Regions from separate parts of the Homo sapiens genome. Here all the other regions are linked to region 1. Evidence: promoter capture Hi-C in human tissues and cell types (Jung and others, 2019). All regions are on one chromosome and are shown on one strand. Each heading gives the region's core, a stretch centred on a gene start or on the middle of the fragment in contact. The rest is flanking DNA. Distances are from core to core; before and after follow the strand shown. Region 1 holds the start of CAPS (calcyphosine). Region 2 overlaps RFX2 (regulatory factor X2). Region 3 overlaps RFX2 (regulatory factor X2).

What was found. Contacts are between HindIII fragments. The study calls those that stand out against the background at their distance.
Region 2: a contact is called between a fragment that was not itself captured here and the fragment with the promoter of CAPS in region 1, in 4 of the 25 tissues and cell types used here (H1 embryonic stem cells, IMR-90 fibroblasts, lymphoblastoid cells and 1 more).
Region 3: a contact is called between a fragment that was not itself captured here and the fragment with the promoter of CAPS in region 1, in 1 of the 25 tissues and cell types used here (liver).

Annotation. Positions count from the first base shown.
Region 1 is chr19:5,911,516-5,916,260 of GRCh38, forward strand. CAPS (calcyphosine) reads left to right here and starts at 2,739. Exons shown (of 5, transcript NM_004058.5): 1 at 2,739-2,794; 2 at 2,870-2,974; 3 at 3,048-3,225; 4 at 3,425-3,631; 5 at 3,706-4,696. The coding sequence starts at 2,892. The coding sequence ends at 3,807. It overlaps RANBP3 (RAN binding protein 3), which reads right to left. Exons shown (of 17, transcript NM_007322.3): 17 at 4,624-4,745. The HindIII fragment of the contact is 10,666 bases long and covers 1-4,745 here.
Region 2 is chr19:6,074,027-6,078,771 of GRCh38, forward strand. All of the region lies in intron 1 of RFX2 (regulatory factor X2), which reads right to left. It overlaps RFX2-AS1 (RFX2 antisense RNA 1), which reads left to right. Exons shown (of 2, transcript NR_199041.1): 2 at 2,994-3,098. Among named protein-coding and RNA genes, the nearest start is that of RFX2-AS1, 14 kb to the left of the region's middle. RefSeq lists enhancers at 341-1,134, 354-523. The HindIII fragment of the contact is 7,886 bases long and covers 1-4,745 here.
Region 3 is chr19:6,041,692-6,046,436 of GRCh38, forward strand. It overlaps RFX2 (regulatory factor X2), which reads right to left. Exons shown (of 18, transcript NM_000635.4): 3 at 2,502-2,591; 4 at 353-432. Among named protein-coding and RNA genes, the nearest start is that of RFX2-AS1, 19 kb to the right of the region's middle. The HindIII fragment of the contact is 4,983 bases long and covers 1-4,713 here.

The sequences.
Region 1 (4,745 bases), core at 1,489-3,988:
TAAATAATTCTGGATTGCAGTGAGCCACCAGGATTTTGGCAGCCAGATGTCACCATGATTTCTCATAAAACTGATGATGTTACATCAGTGGTGGCCTGAATCAAGATGCTGGGATGCCTGTAACCTACAGATTGGTTTCAGACTCCAAAGGCAACTTTTTTTTTTTTTTTTTTTTGAGACGGAGTCTGGCTCTGCCACCCTGCCACCCAGGCTGAAGTACAGTGGTGTGATCTAGGCTCACTGCAACCTCTGCCTCCAGGGTTCAAGTGATTCTCCTGCCTTGGCCTCCTGAGTAGCTGGGATTACAGGCATGCACCACCATGCCCAGCTATTTATTTTTTTTAGTAGAGATGGGGTTTCAAAATGTTGGCCAGGCTGGTCTTGAACTCCTGACCTCAAGTGATCCGCCCACCTCAGCCTCCCAAAGTGCTGGGATTACAGCTGTGAGCCACCGCGCCCAGCCCTGGCCTCTTTTTTTAAGTTATTTATTTATTTTTGAGACAGAGTCTCACTCTGTCGCCCAGGCTGTGGTGCAGTGGCATGGTCTTGGTTCACTGCAACCTCTGCCTCCTGGGTTCAAGTGATTCTCCTGCCTCAGCCTCTGGAGTAGGTGGGATTACAGGCACCCGCCACCATACCTGGCTAATTTTCTTTTTTTTTTTTTGAGACAAAGTCTTGCTCTTGTCCCCCAGTCTGGAGTGCAATGGCACGATCTCGGCTCACTGCAACCTCCGCTTCCCAGGTTCATGCAATTCTCCTGCCTCAGCCTCCCGAGTAGCTGGGATTACAGGCACATACCACCACGCCCAGCTAGTTTTTCGTATTTTAAGTAGAGACAGGGTTTCACCATGTTGGCCAGGCTGGTCTCAAACTCCTGACCTCAGGTGATCTGTCTGCCTCGGCCTCCCAAAGTGCTGTGATTACAGGCATGAGCCACCGCACCCGGCTGACTAATTTTTGTATTTATAGTAGAGACAGGGTTTCACCATGTTGGCCAGGCTGGTCTCGAACTGCTGACCTCATGATCTGCCCGCCTCGGCCTCCCAAAGTGCTGGGATTACAGGCGTGAGCCACCGTGCCCGGCCAGTTTATTTACTTATTTTTAAGAGGCGGGCGTCTTGCTCTGTAACCCAGGCTGGAGTGCAGTGGTGCGATCATAGCTCACTGCAGCCTCCAACTCCCGGGCTCAAGTGATCCTCCTGCCTCAGCCTTCCAAGTAGGTGGGATTACAGGAACACACCACCATGCCTGGCTAATTTTTTGTAGTTTTTGTAGAGATGGGGGGGTCTCACTATGTTGCACAGGCGGGTCTCAAACTCCTGGGCTCAAGTGATCTTCCTGCCCTGGCTTCCCAAAGTGTTGGGATTACAGGCATGAGCCACCGCGCTCAGGCAAGGCAACTTCTGACAATATAATTGTGCTGTGAGCGAGGTAAAGCCAGGCTTGGAGAAGGCTCCGATTGATGATCCTTGGGTCGGGGCGAACAGTGGGTCCTCAAACAGGGCCCACGTTTCAAGTCCTGGAAAACCCACCTATCTTAGCGGGCAGGTATATCCGATGTCTCCGTTGAAGGCCTTCAGTGAGGTGGCTTCGTCTCTTGAGGTTTATGTCCAGGATCAGGGCTGCTCTTCCACTCGGGGTCACAACCTCTGGCTCACCACCTTGTCAGGAGCCAGCCCACTAAGTCACGTTTCAGGCCTGAAAACCAACAACAAAAGATCCGTAAAGACAGAAATCCTGGGACTGGCTCCTAACAACGGCCAGTGACAAGCTTTGTGGCAGTGAGCAGAGGTGTCCCTCAGGCTCAGCTCAGTCTCTGTGGGTTGCAGGACCTGCCCTTGGAGGTGGGCCTGGGTGGGAGGTCTTAGGGCCCCAGGACCTGGGCCACCTGGGGCTTTTTTTTTTTTTTTCTTTTTGAGATGGAGTCTTGCTCTGTCGCCCAGACTGGAGTGCAGTGGTGCAATCTTGGCTCACTGCAAGCTCCACCTCCTGGGTTCAAGCGATTCTCCTGCCTCAGCTTCCTAAGTAGCTCGGATTACAGGCGCCCACCATCATGCACGGCTAATTTTTGTATTTTTAGTAGAGGCGGGGTTTCACCATGTTGGTCAGGCTGGTCTCAAACTCCTCACCTTGTGATCTGCCCACCTCGGCCTCCCAAAGTGCTGGGATTACAGGCATGAGCCACCGCGCCCAGCCCACCTGGGGCATTTTTGTTGCTGTACAATAGAAACAAGTTCTCTATATGTTCCCCAGGCTGGTCCAAACTCCTGGGCTCAAGTGATCCTCCCACCTAGACCTCCCAAAGTGCTGGGATTTCAGGCATGAGCCGCAGTGGCCGGTCAGAACCTGGGGCCCTTTTGAACTTTGATTCCTCAGCAATTTTGTCAGCCCTGGCTCGGGCTGAGAAGCCCCTGTGAAGCCAGAGAGGGAAAGGGACCTGTCCAGGGTCACACAGGAATCATGCGTCAAGCCTCCCCAGCCACGGACTTGTCTCCATCCAGGGCATTTCAGCCCCTGCAGGGCAGTGGCCTGCCCCTCCTCCTTGGAGCCAGGAAGGGATGCAGTGCCACAGGGATCTGGCTCTGTCCCAGGCCCTGTGGGGCTGGCAGTTGAGTAAGCAGTCAGGCTGGGCGCACCCATCCCTCCCCCACTCCCCACTGCCCAGCACAGTGCATTCATGCAGCTGGGCCCCACCCCATCTCCAGAGGCACCTTCCACTAGCAACAGTCTCCCCAGGCACAACACAGCTAACACAAGGCCCCGCAGGCAGGACTCTGGGACAGACGCAGGCCAGGTGAGCATCTGAACAAGGGGCAGTCGGCCAGGGTGGGCTTGCGGGAGTCCCCACCTTGACCTCTCTCCCTTCCAGCTGCCCAGAGCCCAGACCAAGCATGGACGCCGTGGATGCCACCATGGAGAAACTCCGGGCACAGTGCCTGTCCCGCGGGGCCTCGGGCATCCAGGGCCTGGCCAGGTGAGCTGTCCCCTCTCACCTTCCTGACCCCGGCCCCTGAGACCACTGTTCCAACCGTGTCCCCTGCCTCCAGGTTTTTCCGCCAACTAGACCGGGACGGGAGCAGATCCCTGGACGCTGATGAGTTCCGGCAGGGTCTGGCCAAACTCGGGCTGGTGCTGGACCAGGCGGAGGCAGAGGGTGTGTGCAGGAAGTGGGACCGCAATGGCAGCGGGACGCTGGATCTGGAGGAGTTCCTTCGGGCGCTGCGGGTGAGCCCCCACCTCACAGTCAAGGCGTGTGCCCTGGGCATGGGGCGACAGAGGATGCTGAGATGCGGAGACGGGGACTCCTCCCTAAGAGCTGCTGTTAAGAGGCGCCTGCTGGGGCATACAGCCCCAGTGCTCTGCACAGCGTCTTGGGGGTTTGGGTGTGCTACCCACCACCCCCAGTCACCACCTCCTGTCCCAGCCCCCCATGTCCCAGGCCCGGGAGGCTGTCATCGCAGCTGCATTTGCCAAGCTGGACCGCAGTGGGGACGGCGTCGTGACGGTGGACGACCTCCGCGGGGTGTACAGTGGCCGTGCCCACCCCAAGGTGCGCAGTGGGGAGTGGACCGAGGACGAGGTGCTGCGCCGCTTCCTGGACAACTTCGACTCCTCTGAGAAGGACGGGCAGGTGGGTGGCTGCGCGGGGGGCCCCCTCCCCAGGCAGTTCCTCGGCCGTGCCCCCTCACGGCCCTCTGTTCCCAGGTCACACTGGCGGAATTCCAGGACTACTACAGCGGCGTGAGTGCCTCCATGAACACGGATGAGGAGTTCGTGGCCATGATGACCAGTGCCTGGCAGCTGTGAGCAGCTCCGGCTCAGCCCTGCTGCCCTGGCCTGTCACTCCCCACCCCTGCCGGAGACCTCCCTTCCCTGGGCCCCTTCTCTCCTGGGCAGCCACACCACAGAGCGGGGAGGGGCAGGTGGGGGAATGGAGGCTGCAGGACTGGCTAGACCAGGTCCCTGCCGGTCCACCAGGCGGAGGTGGGACAAAGGTCCTAACAGGAGTCACTGGCTCAGGACCCCAGGGAGAAACGCTCTCCCCACCCACGCCATGCTGACCAGAGATCTTGCAGCCCCTGTGGATGCCCCCGCCGAGGTCCCCCGATCCCCGCACCCGGACTGCTGCTCCCTGCCCCTCCCTTGCGGGTCCCCCAGGAAGCCAGGTGACCCCAGGTGGGAGGCTGTGTGTGGAGGCCATCCTGGAAGGAAGTTTAGACCTGCCCAGGTGTGGAGCGAGGGGCACAGGGGCATCCTAACCTCAGAAACTGAAATAAAGCCTTTGAAAAAAAAATCTGTAAAACATCAACCCCCAATCAGAAGATGGCAAATGGGGAATAAAAATAGCAGGTAACATGTCCAGCGGGCCCAGTATCTACATTCTGGTGAGCGGCCCGAGGCTGGGAGCTCTGGGCGGGGGCAGACCGGCGGGGCCTTGCAGCAGGGGTGGGGGTAAAGTGCGGGTGGTGGTGGAGAGAACAGGGCTGTGGCTGGACCCCAGCACTGGTGACACGCTGGGTGGGAGCATGAGGCCCCAGGCTGCTGGAGGTCCTCGCCCGGGGAGGTGGAGGCCGTTCCTGGTCAGGGGCTTCCTGAGGCCCCTGGGGCATGCAGAGGCCAGGGTTTTAGTTAAAAGTTTAATGTAGTTCCCAAATACATTTCATATGACAATCTTACATAAATGTTCCAAAACACATGGGCGTTATCTCGTTGTACTCGTCACTAGCTGGCTAAGGCTTAAAGCA
Region 2 (4,745 bases), core at 1,425-3,924, 160 kb after region 1:
CGGCCCTGGGTAGCAGGAACTCGTTCTGCCCCAGCTGAGGTTCTGGGCCTCATCACTAATGACCCACAGCAGCCAAGGTCAGCCCTCGGGAAGATGGAAAATGAATGAAGGGCAGCTCTGCCCAAAGCGGCGGACCAGGTGGGCAAACAGAGAGCCGGGGTTTTGTAGCAGGGGTGGGGGTGCGGTACAGGAACAGATCTGGAGCTTGTGGCAGGAGTTCAGGTGGAACATCAGGCGGGGTACAGATGCCACAGTGTGGAGGAAGCTCCTCCTCTCATCCCAAGCTAGCCCCTTCCTAACCTCAAGTCAACGAGAAGAGAAGGTGGGCTAGAACCTTTCCACCTTCCTCTTAGCACCCGGCCTGTGCCGGTGCATCTCCTCACCCCACACAGTGCCCTGGGTACAGGGGCTGGGGCTTGAAGGGTGCCCATAACACACTCCCTCAGAGCCTGGACACTCAGCCATCGTTCATTCATTCAACAAACACAGTCTGAGCATCTGCCATGTGCCGGCTTCAAGTGCTGAGGACACAGCAGGGAATGAAACAGATTGAGTCCCTGACCATGTGGGGCTGACCCCTCAGGGAGAGACAGACGACACCATGGACACAGAACAGCAGGAGGTGACAAATGCTCTGAAGAAAAATACACTCAAATGCACAAGTGGAGTGCGGCATGGGCCAGGGGCAACAAGGTGACCTGGGGCAGTGACAGGACAGAGGCAGAGTGAGGTGAGGAAAGTGTCGCCGCTGAGAAGGCTCTGCCAGGGATGGTGCTCGGCAAGGCTGAGGCACACGGGACATGTGGGGTCACACGGGTCACGTGAGGAGGCCACCAGAGGGAGCTGGGGGAATGCTGGGGGTTGAATGTTGTGTCCCCTTAAATTCCTATGCTGAACTCCTCACCCCAAGGCAGTAGCTTTAGGAGGTGGGGCCTTTGGGAGGTGATTAGGTCATGAGGGTGGGATCATGCCCTCCCTTATGGAAGGGACCCCAGAGAGCTCTCTCTGGCTTCCCACCATGTGATGTGAGGACACAGCAAGAAGACAGCCATCTGCATCCCAGAGGGAAGCCCTCACCAGAACCTGACCCTGCTGGCACCCTCTTCTCAGACTTCCCACCTCCAGGGCTGAGAGATGTGTGTCTGTTGTTTACAGCCACCCAGTCTATGGCCTTTTGCTGAAACAGCCCAAACAGATTAAGACAGGAGGAGAAGGAGGAAGAGGAGAAAGAAGAGGAGGAGAAGGTGGAGGAGGAGGAGGAGGAGGAGGAGAAGATGGACTTAGAGACACAAGGAGGCCACAGTGGAGTGTTTGGCTTTCGCTCTGAGTGTGCTGGGAAGCTACTGGAAGGTTTAGGGCACAGGGACACAATCTGACAGATATTTTGGAAGTATCAACGGTCAATGGAAGCAAACGTCAGGGCTGGACAACCAGGTCAGAGGTGACAAAGACTTACGTGATAGCAGTGCTCTCATTTGGGAGACACCTGAAGACAGAGCCAGCCAGGTTTGCTGACGGGTTTGACATAAAGGGTGAAAGAAAGAGAGGAGTCGAGGCTGACTTAAGGCTTGGGGCTGGCCTGAGCACCTAGAGAATGGAGCTGCCCGGTGCTGAGCTGGGGAAGCCCGTGGTCTGGGGAGAGACAAGTGTGAGGTCGAATCAGGCACCCAGTTTTGGGTGACAGAAGCCTCAGATGCCCATCAGATGACACCCACATGCAGCTGCCACCTAGGCAGCTAGGTACACAAGTCCAGGATTCGGGGAGTGAGCCAGGCTGCAGACACTAGGACACTGGAGGTTCTAAGATGCATTTCAACTCTTGTACCTCGGTGAGATCACCAGGAAAGCAGGTGTAGATAAAGCAGAAAAGAGGTCCCTTCTCAAGTTCAAAGGTCATGAACAGTTGGAGGATCTGGCATAGGGGACAGAGGAGAGGAAGAAAGCAGAGGGAATATCGAGCTCTGAAATACACAGCGTCACCCCTTTACTTGGCTTTCGGAGCTTGGTGTTCACAAAAAATTAGAAACGAGGTTGGGGGCGGTGGCTCATGCCTGTAATCCCAGCACATTTTGGGAGGCCAAGGTGGGCAGATCACTTGAGGTCATGAGTTCGAGAGCAGCCTGGCCAACATGGCGAAACCCCATCTCTACTAAAAAATAATACAAAAATTAGCCATGCGTGGTGGTGCATGCCTGTAATCCCAGCTACTTGGGAGGCTGAGGCAGGAGAATCGCCTGAACCCGGGAGGCTGAGGTTGCAGTGAGCCGAGATGGTGCCACTGTACTCCAGCCTGGGTGACAGAGAGAGACTCTGTCTCAAAATAAATAAATACATAAATAAGAAACAAACGTTCATCAACTGGAATACCATTAACTACCTTACGGTGCATCCTAGCTCTAAAACAGGAGGCTAGGCGAGGGTGCCTGGGTCCGGTGCCTGGGTCCAGTTCCTGGGTCCTCCAGTTTCTAGCTGGGTGACCTCAGCCAGGGACTTAAATCTTTCTGCACTTCCATTTCTTTGTCCATAAACGGAGAAAATACTTCTATCTGTGTTGGGTGGTTGTGTTAAATGAGAGGAGTCCTACAAAGTGTGGAGTTTAATGGCCAGCCCAGCACACGGAAAATGCCCATAAATGTTCATTAGCGTCATCGTTGTAATTCACACCATTATAACGTAACCCACATAATTTACTGATTTTTTGCAGATTTAAATATCTGAAACTAAAAGCAGTTATGCTGTTTGCTATTTGTGATTTCAAAAACTCTTCGCTATTTGTGATGTTGCTAAGCCCTTTAGGGAGTGCCTCCTGCTATGAGCTATATTCATTCCAGGGCATATTTGTGGGGTTTGTCATTTTAACCAAGTACTTAATACTTGTTTCTCTCCCAGCATCTTGCCAAATGTGGCAGCTCTCCTTCTAGATGAACACTACTGCATTACTGTTATAGAAATGATATTTTAACATCAACTCCCTTTTCCCTTTTCTTCCCTAGAAATCCAGTCCTTCCATGAGACCTCGGTACACACAGAACTCCTCCTACCACGTGCAACCTTATTCTCGGCTGAGCAACTCATAAATCGCATAACAAAAACAGTGATTGATGCGGACTGTGTTTAGTGCCATCCTTGCCGGTGAGAGGGAGTGAGCCAGCAAGCTTCCTTAAATCTCTTTAGTTCTCCAAAAGGAGAGGCCATTTGCCTTCTCATCTATGCCGCAAGTTTCTGGGGCTTGCATCATTAACCTGGTGGCTTTGCCAATTCCTTCGCCAGTGCTGGGTCAAAGACAGGCAAGGGCACCAGGGTTAGCCATGAGTGTGTGCCAGGGGCTGAATGCAAAACCCGGGAGCACTGGTGGCTGGGGCAGGTGGGCTGGGCTCTGCCACTGCCTCCCCCAGCCCACCCAAGAGGGGCGTGTGCCTCTGCAGGAAATGGCCTCCAAGCATTTCTCAAGACTTACGAGATGTTCAAACCTACACAGTCAGAGACAAAGAGCTAGCTATAAGTGGGGTCTTTTTCCCCTCCTCAAAATTCATCCTGCAGAAGTAGACATGTGCTAAACAGTGCATGGCCACACAAATGCTTGGATACCAATGTTCACAGCAGCGTTGTCCTAATGGCCCCAAAGTAGCAACAGCCCAAATGTTTGTCAACTGATGGATGGATAAACGAAGGCGGCCGGGCGCGGTGGCTCACACCTGTAATCCCAGCACTTTGGGAGGCTGAGGCGGGTGGATCACCTGAGGTCAGGAGTTTGAGACCAGCCTGACCAACATGGAGAAACCCTGTCTCTATTAAAATACAAAATTAGCCGGGCGTGGTGGCACATGCCTGTAATCCCAGCTACTTGGGAGGCTGAGGCAGGAGAATCGCTTGAACCCGGGAGGCGGAGGTTGCAGTGAGCCAAGATCGCGCCATTGCACTCCAGCCTGGGCAACAAGAGCAAAATTCCATCTCAAAAAAAAAAAAAAAAAAAAGGAACGAGGCACTGGCACATGCTGTAAACGGATGGACAGTGGACCCTGAAAACATTATGTTACGTGGAAGAAGCCAGTCACAAAAGGCCACATAGTGTGTGATTCTGTTTATATGAAAGGTTCAAAACAGGCAAATCCACAGAGACAGAAAGTGGATTCACAGTTGCCCGGGGCTGGGAGGAGGAAGGGCAAGTGGCTGTTCATGGCAGGTTCAGGGTTTCTTCTTCTTTTCGGAGTGATGAAAATGTTCTGTGAAGATAGTATACTAAGACCCACTGAACCATACACTTCAAATGGGTGAGCTTTACGGTATGTAAAACAGATCTCAGCACAGCTGTAAAAAAAAAAAAAAAAAAGGTATATTGACGACCTGTCCCCAGTGGCATTAGTTTAAGTCATAAAAATTTAGAAACAAATGTTCATCAACAGGAAAATCATTAAGTACCTTATGGTGCATCCTAGCTCTAAAACTATGCTGCCATTAAAAAGAAGAGGTACCGTCTCCAAGAAAGAAAGCCAACATCTGCAGTGCCTGGCACACAGTAGGCTCTCAAATATTTGCAGAATAAATTTATGTTGAAAAAACCCCAGCTATACATACTATAAAATAGGTAAAGGGGCCTTAAAAAGATCTAGAAGGACACAAGTTATATGACTAACAGTGCTTACCTCATATGAGGTGGGATAGACAGAAAGACGAAAAGAGAAATTTTCATTTCTGAATCTCCTGCTGTAGATGGTGGTCCTTCCCAGGAGAATGTTACTTGTATT
Region 3 (4,745 bases), core at 972-3,471, 130 kb after region 1:
TGTCCTAATCCCTCAGCTCCCACCCCGCTCCTTTTTTTTTTGGACAGGGTGTTGCTCCATCAGTCAGGCGTGATCATAGCTCACTGCAGCCTCCAACTCCTGGGCTCATGCGATCCTCCCACCTTGGCCTCCTGATTACCTGGGAGGGACTCTAGGCACTTGTCACCATGTCTGGCTAATTTTAAAATTTTTTGTAGAGATATTGCCCAGTTTCCTAATAGCATTTTAACAGTATTTAGTGAACACATCGCCAAAAGCATAAGGGAGAGGAATTTGCTTGATGCCTCCCCAGGTGGCAAAGGCTGGAGTCAGGGAGAGGGTTCCGGGTGTGGCCCGCGGGAGAAGCACGCACATGGCTCCATTGGTGTAGACGGCGTCTCCCCCTTCCACGTACTGCACCTGGGCAGGATACACGTGCTGCACCGGCTGCACCTGAAACATCGGATACGCTGCGTTACCGCCAGTCACGCCCTCGTGAGTTGCCTGCAGATTATTCAAGCTAGACGTGTCTTCTATTGCCTTTATGAACATTTAGTACCAAATGACAATGTTCCCGCCCACAGTCGGCACGCCTAGAAAGACACTGAGGAGACAGTAATGTACAGACGACATATTCCAAACGGGCCCACACAGTTCAGGGAGCTGCGACTGATCCCCAGAGCTCTGCTAGCGTGTCTGTGCGCCCTGGCTCCTCTGTATACGTGGGGGCGGGACCAGGAGAATGACAACGCTCCTCCAGTGCAGTGGAAACTAGAGTTGTGGACAGAGGCCCAGCCTTGGCTCACAGGACTGTCCCTGGTTTCTGTTTTTTTTTTTTGTTTGTTTGTTTGTTTTTTTGCGACAGGGTCTCCCTCTGTAGCTCAAGCTGGCGTGCAGGCTGCAGTGCACAGGGGGCTGAGCAGATTAGACTCTACATGGCCCCAACACCCCCCGTGGGTGGCCCTGGTGCCCCTTCCCTGGCAGAGAGGAGGGGAGAGAATGTGATGGTCTGAACAGAGTGGGAAGGAGCGGCATGCCTGGAGAGATGGGGCAATGGGGGGACCCCAGCACACCCCCGCTGCCCTGCCCTCCCCTCTCTGAAACATCAGTTCAGAGCCTCGGCTGACAGGCCCCGAGGGACTCTAGTCCGAGCAGTGGAAGCCAAACGCTTTGCACATGGGACTTCAAACTCTCACCCCAGAGGGCATCTTAGTGGCTGTCTACATCCACTGAATTTTGGGGTGAGAAGATGGAGGGCCACAGAAGTGGGCTTGTTCGGGTGTCATGGTGTCATGGTGACCTTCCTCTTGTGCTTGAAGCTGCAGGATGGGGCTGACCTGCCCCTCCTTGGACCACTGAGCATGGTATGCACTTGTCCAACGCACCACCCCCAGAATCACAAGTTCCAGGGGTTAACATCTGTTGGGTGATGCCCCAGGGGTGGAAGTCAAATGTCGAATTCTGGGGTCCAAGTGAAATGCAGAAGTTACAGAAAGAGCTGGGGCAGGCCCAGCACCAGAAAAGTGGTGGAAGCTTCTGGAATCTCCTCTCCTTGGTGTCTCTGGGGAGTGCCTTGACAGACAGCAGCTAAGACAGAGCCACTGGCCTGAGGCCCTGCGTCCCCGCTGGGCCTGTCTGGAGCCTTTTCCTTCCTGTGATCCTGCAAACCTTCCTAGTTCTCATGGACACAGTCACCTGACAAATGCCTGTGAACAGACTGCCAATCTAGGCAGGACCCTCCTGAAGAGCGGTGCATTCTCTAGGGCCTCAGGGCTCCTTTTAGGGAGGAGCCTGAGTTAACTTTAATTCAGGATTCTGCAGGGCACAGTTGGCAAACTCCGGCCCTGAGGGCCAAATCTGGCCCACTGCCTGTTTTTGTAAATAAAGTTTTATTGGCACACAGCCACACCCATTTGGTTGCATATCATTTATGGCTGCTTTTGCGATACAATGGCAGAATTGAGTGGTTGTTCCAGAGACTGCCTGGACCACAAACCCCCAAAAATGTATAATTTGGCCTTTTCTGGAAACAGTTTGCTAACCATGCTTCTAGAGTGTCCCCAAGCTGATGATCTGTGTTGCTACTTGGCTGGTCAGCCGTGCTTTCAAACTTTGTTCTTAGATAATTGAAATCATAAGAAGCATTTCCTCTGTTGTGCCCGCATCTGAGGGTATGGCACTCACTAGCAGATGGTTCCTCCAGTCCAGAGCCCTTTGTTTCTGTCTGCATTTCTACCTGAGCTCCACCCAGCAGGTGCGGGGTGCTCACTGGTTCCCCAAATGCTTGCTGAATTTCTGAATGAACGAAAGATCACCAGCTTTCTTGGCTTTCTGCAAAACTATCTGCAGTAAATGATTTTTTTAAAATTGCACAGCTTCTGGAAAAGTCTTTTGGCTAAGAAACTGAAGCTTACAACAAGGAACAGCAGCCACAGAAAAGGATGCATCCTTCAGAGATTGTTCTGGATTGCTGAGTGCTAACTGCGCCCCGGTTTGCACGGTGCTGCGGTGCTTGTCATTACCTGCTGGGGTACCTGCTGAACTCTGGGGAGGGAGATCGGCTGCATCTGGGCCCCTTTGGGATTGGAGCTGGCTGCCTGGACCAACACCCTCTAAAAGGGAAGGGAGAGAAGGCCAGTTAGACTTGTCAGAGGTCAGTGCTGAGGATACACACAGAATGTAAGATGCTGTTTGTCTGTTCATGTGCTTTTTATTAAAACATAGGCAGGACTGATCAGAGGCGACGGCGGGGTGATGGTCAGACTTGCACACTCACACCGACCTGGGCAGACACACGGCAGGTACGTGCAGGCACACAAACAATGCACATACATACACAAGTGTGCACATACACTCAGCCCATGCACCACACATATGCACGAATTGTGGGCACACACACACGTATGCACACACACATACACGGAAGCACATGCACCTTCACCCGCCCAGGCAGCTTTGCCTCTGTGGGTCTGTAGTCTGCAGCAAGGTGACACTGATCGTCCCTAGTACAGAGGGGACTGCTGGGGCCCTCTGGATAGCCATCCGCACCACTGCGTGGGAGAGCACTCTGTGGCGCCCCTCGCTTCTGCAGTATAACCCGGACTTGTTTCCATTTTCTGATGAGGTTAATGAAGCCAGAGGGCTCAAGTGCTGCCTCTGGCTACAGAATACTCGAGTCCAGGTGCCCTGTGTCTGGGTCCCTCGCTCTCTGACCCCACTGCTCTCCAGCCTCCTAAGTCAAATCTGCACAGTGTGGCTTTGCTATTTTTCTGGGAGTACCGATTGGCCACACAAAGCTATCAAAATGGGAAGGGTCAAAGTGAACTCGAGTCGAGGGAGGAACAGGAGTGTTTTGTGTGTTTATTGAGAGCTGGGGCTTTCGGAGTCATTGGCTGCAGTGCTGTGATTTCCCGGCATGAACCCTGAATGTCACAGGTAGCAGTGACTGCCATATATACATCACGAGGGGTGATGGGTGAGGACACGCCATCCCCTGTGTTGCAGGAGTGGAGCTAAGGATGAAGATGGTGCTAATAAGGATGCCAGCGCAAGGGCATTCTGATTCCAGGTGAGCTGGGCGCCGTGTGCTTGGAGAATTCACAGGGTCCTGGCAAGTCCTCAGAGAGGGACCACAGTGATGAAACCTGGGACACACATGGTGGCCGTGAGTGGCACTGAGACCTGTCCATGGTGGCTGCTGCAGAGGAAGGCAGAGTCCACCTAGGCCTGGGAGAGCCTGAGAGAGGGGCTTGGCAGGAAGACCTGAGGGCTGACTCCTCTTGGACAATTTCAAGTGGGCACGGAAACATATCAATTAGGCCACAACTGCTGGCAGGGCGACGGCGTCTGATCCTCACCTCAGATGGGCTTCCAAGACGCCCTCCCCACTGCCATATGTGCAAGAAATAAAAGCTAAAGATGTCTGACCATACACACTACATCAAATAAACCGCTTCACTGTCTGCCTTTTTGTTTTTGCGGAATTGTGTTTTTTTGTTTTTGTTTTTTTGTGTTTTTTGGGACGGATTTTTGCTCTTGTCGCCCAGGCTGAAGTGCGATGGCACGATCTCGGCTCACTATAACCTCTGCCTCCTGGGTTCAAGCGATTCTCCTGCCTCAGCTTCCCGAGTAGCTGGGATTACAAGCATGTGCCACAATGCTCGGCTAATTTATTATTATTATTATTTTTTGTATTTAGTAGACACAGGGTTTCACCATGTTACTCAGACTGGTCTCAAACTCCTGACCTCAGGTGATCCACCCACCTTGGCCTCCCAAAGTGCTGGGATTACAGGCATGTGCCACCATGCCTGGCCCTGAATTGTGTGTTTTAAAACCATAATCATTTCTTTTTGCTGTGCTCCTAACTTTTAGATTCCAGATCGAGGTGGTCACACGGCCACAGTGGACCTCTGCACACTGTGATGAGCCTCCAGCCTGTTTCATGTGGCCGGTGCCATTCGCTTTGTATTTCTGTCTTCTTTATGGCTTATTTCATTCCACGGTAGAAATCCAGGAGCAGAGAAAGCCTGAATGTGAAAATTCTCTCTCTGCGAATTTTAAAGAATATGTTCATTCAGGTGCTAGATTCTATTTTGAACAAAATCTTAAGAATTCTAACTCATCTAGGCTGGGCGTGGTGGCTCACGCCTGTAATCCCAGCACTTTGGGAGGCTGAGGCGGGCAGATCACCTGAGGTCAGGAGTTCGAGACCAGCCTGGCCAACATGGTGAAACCTCGTCTCTACTAAAAATACAAAAATTAGC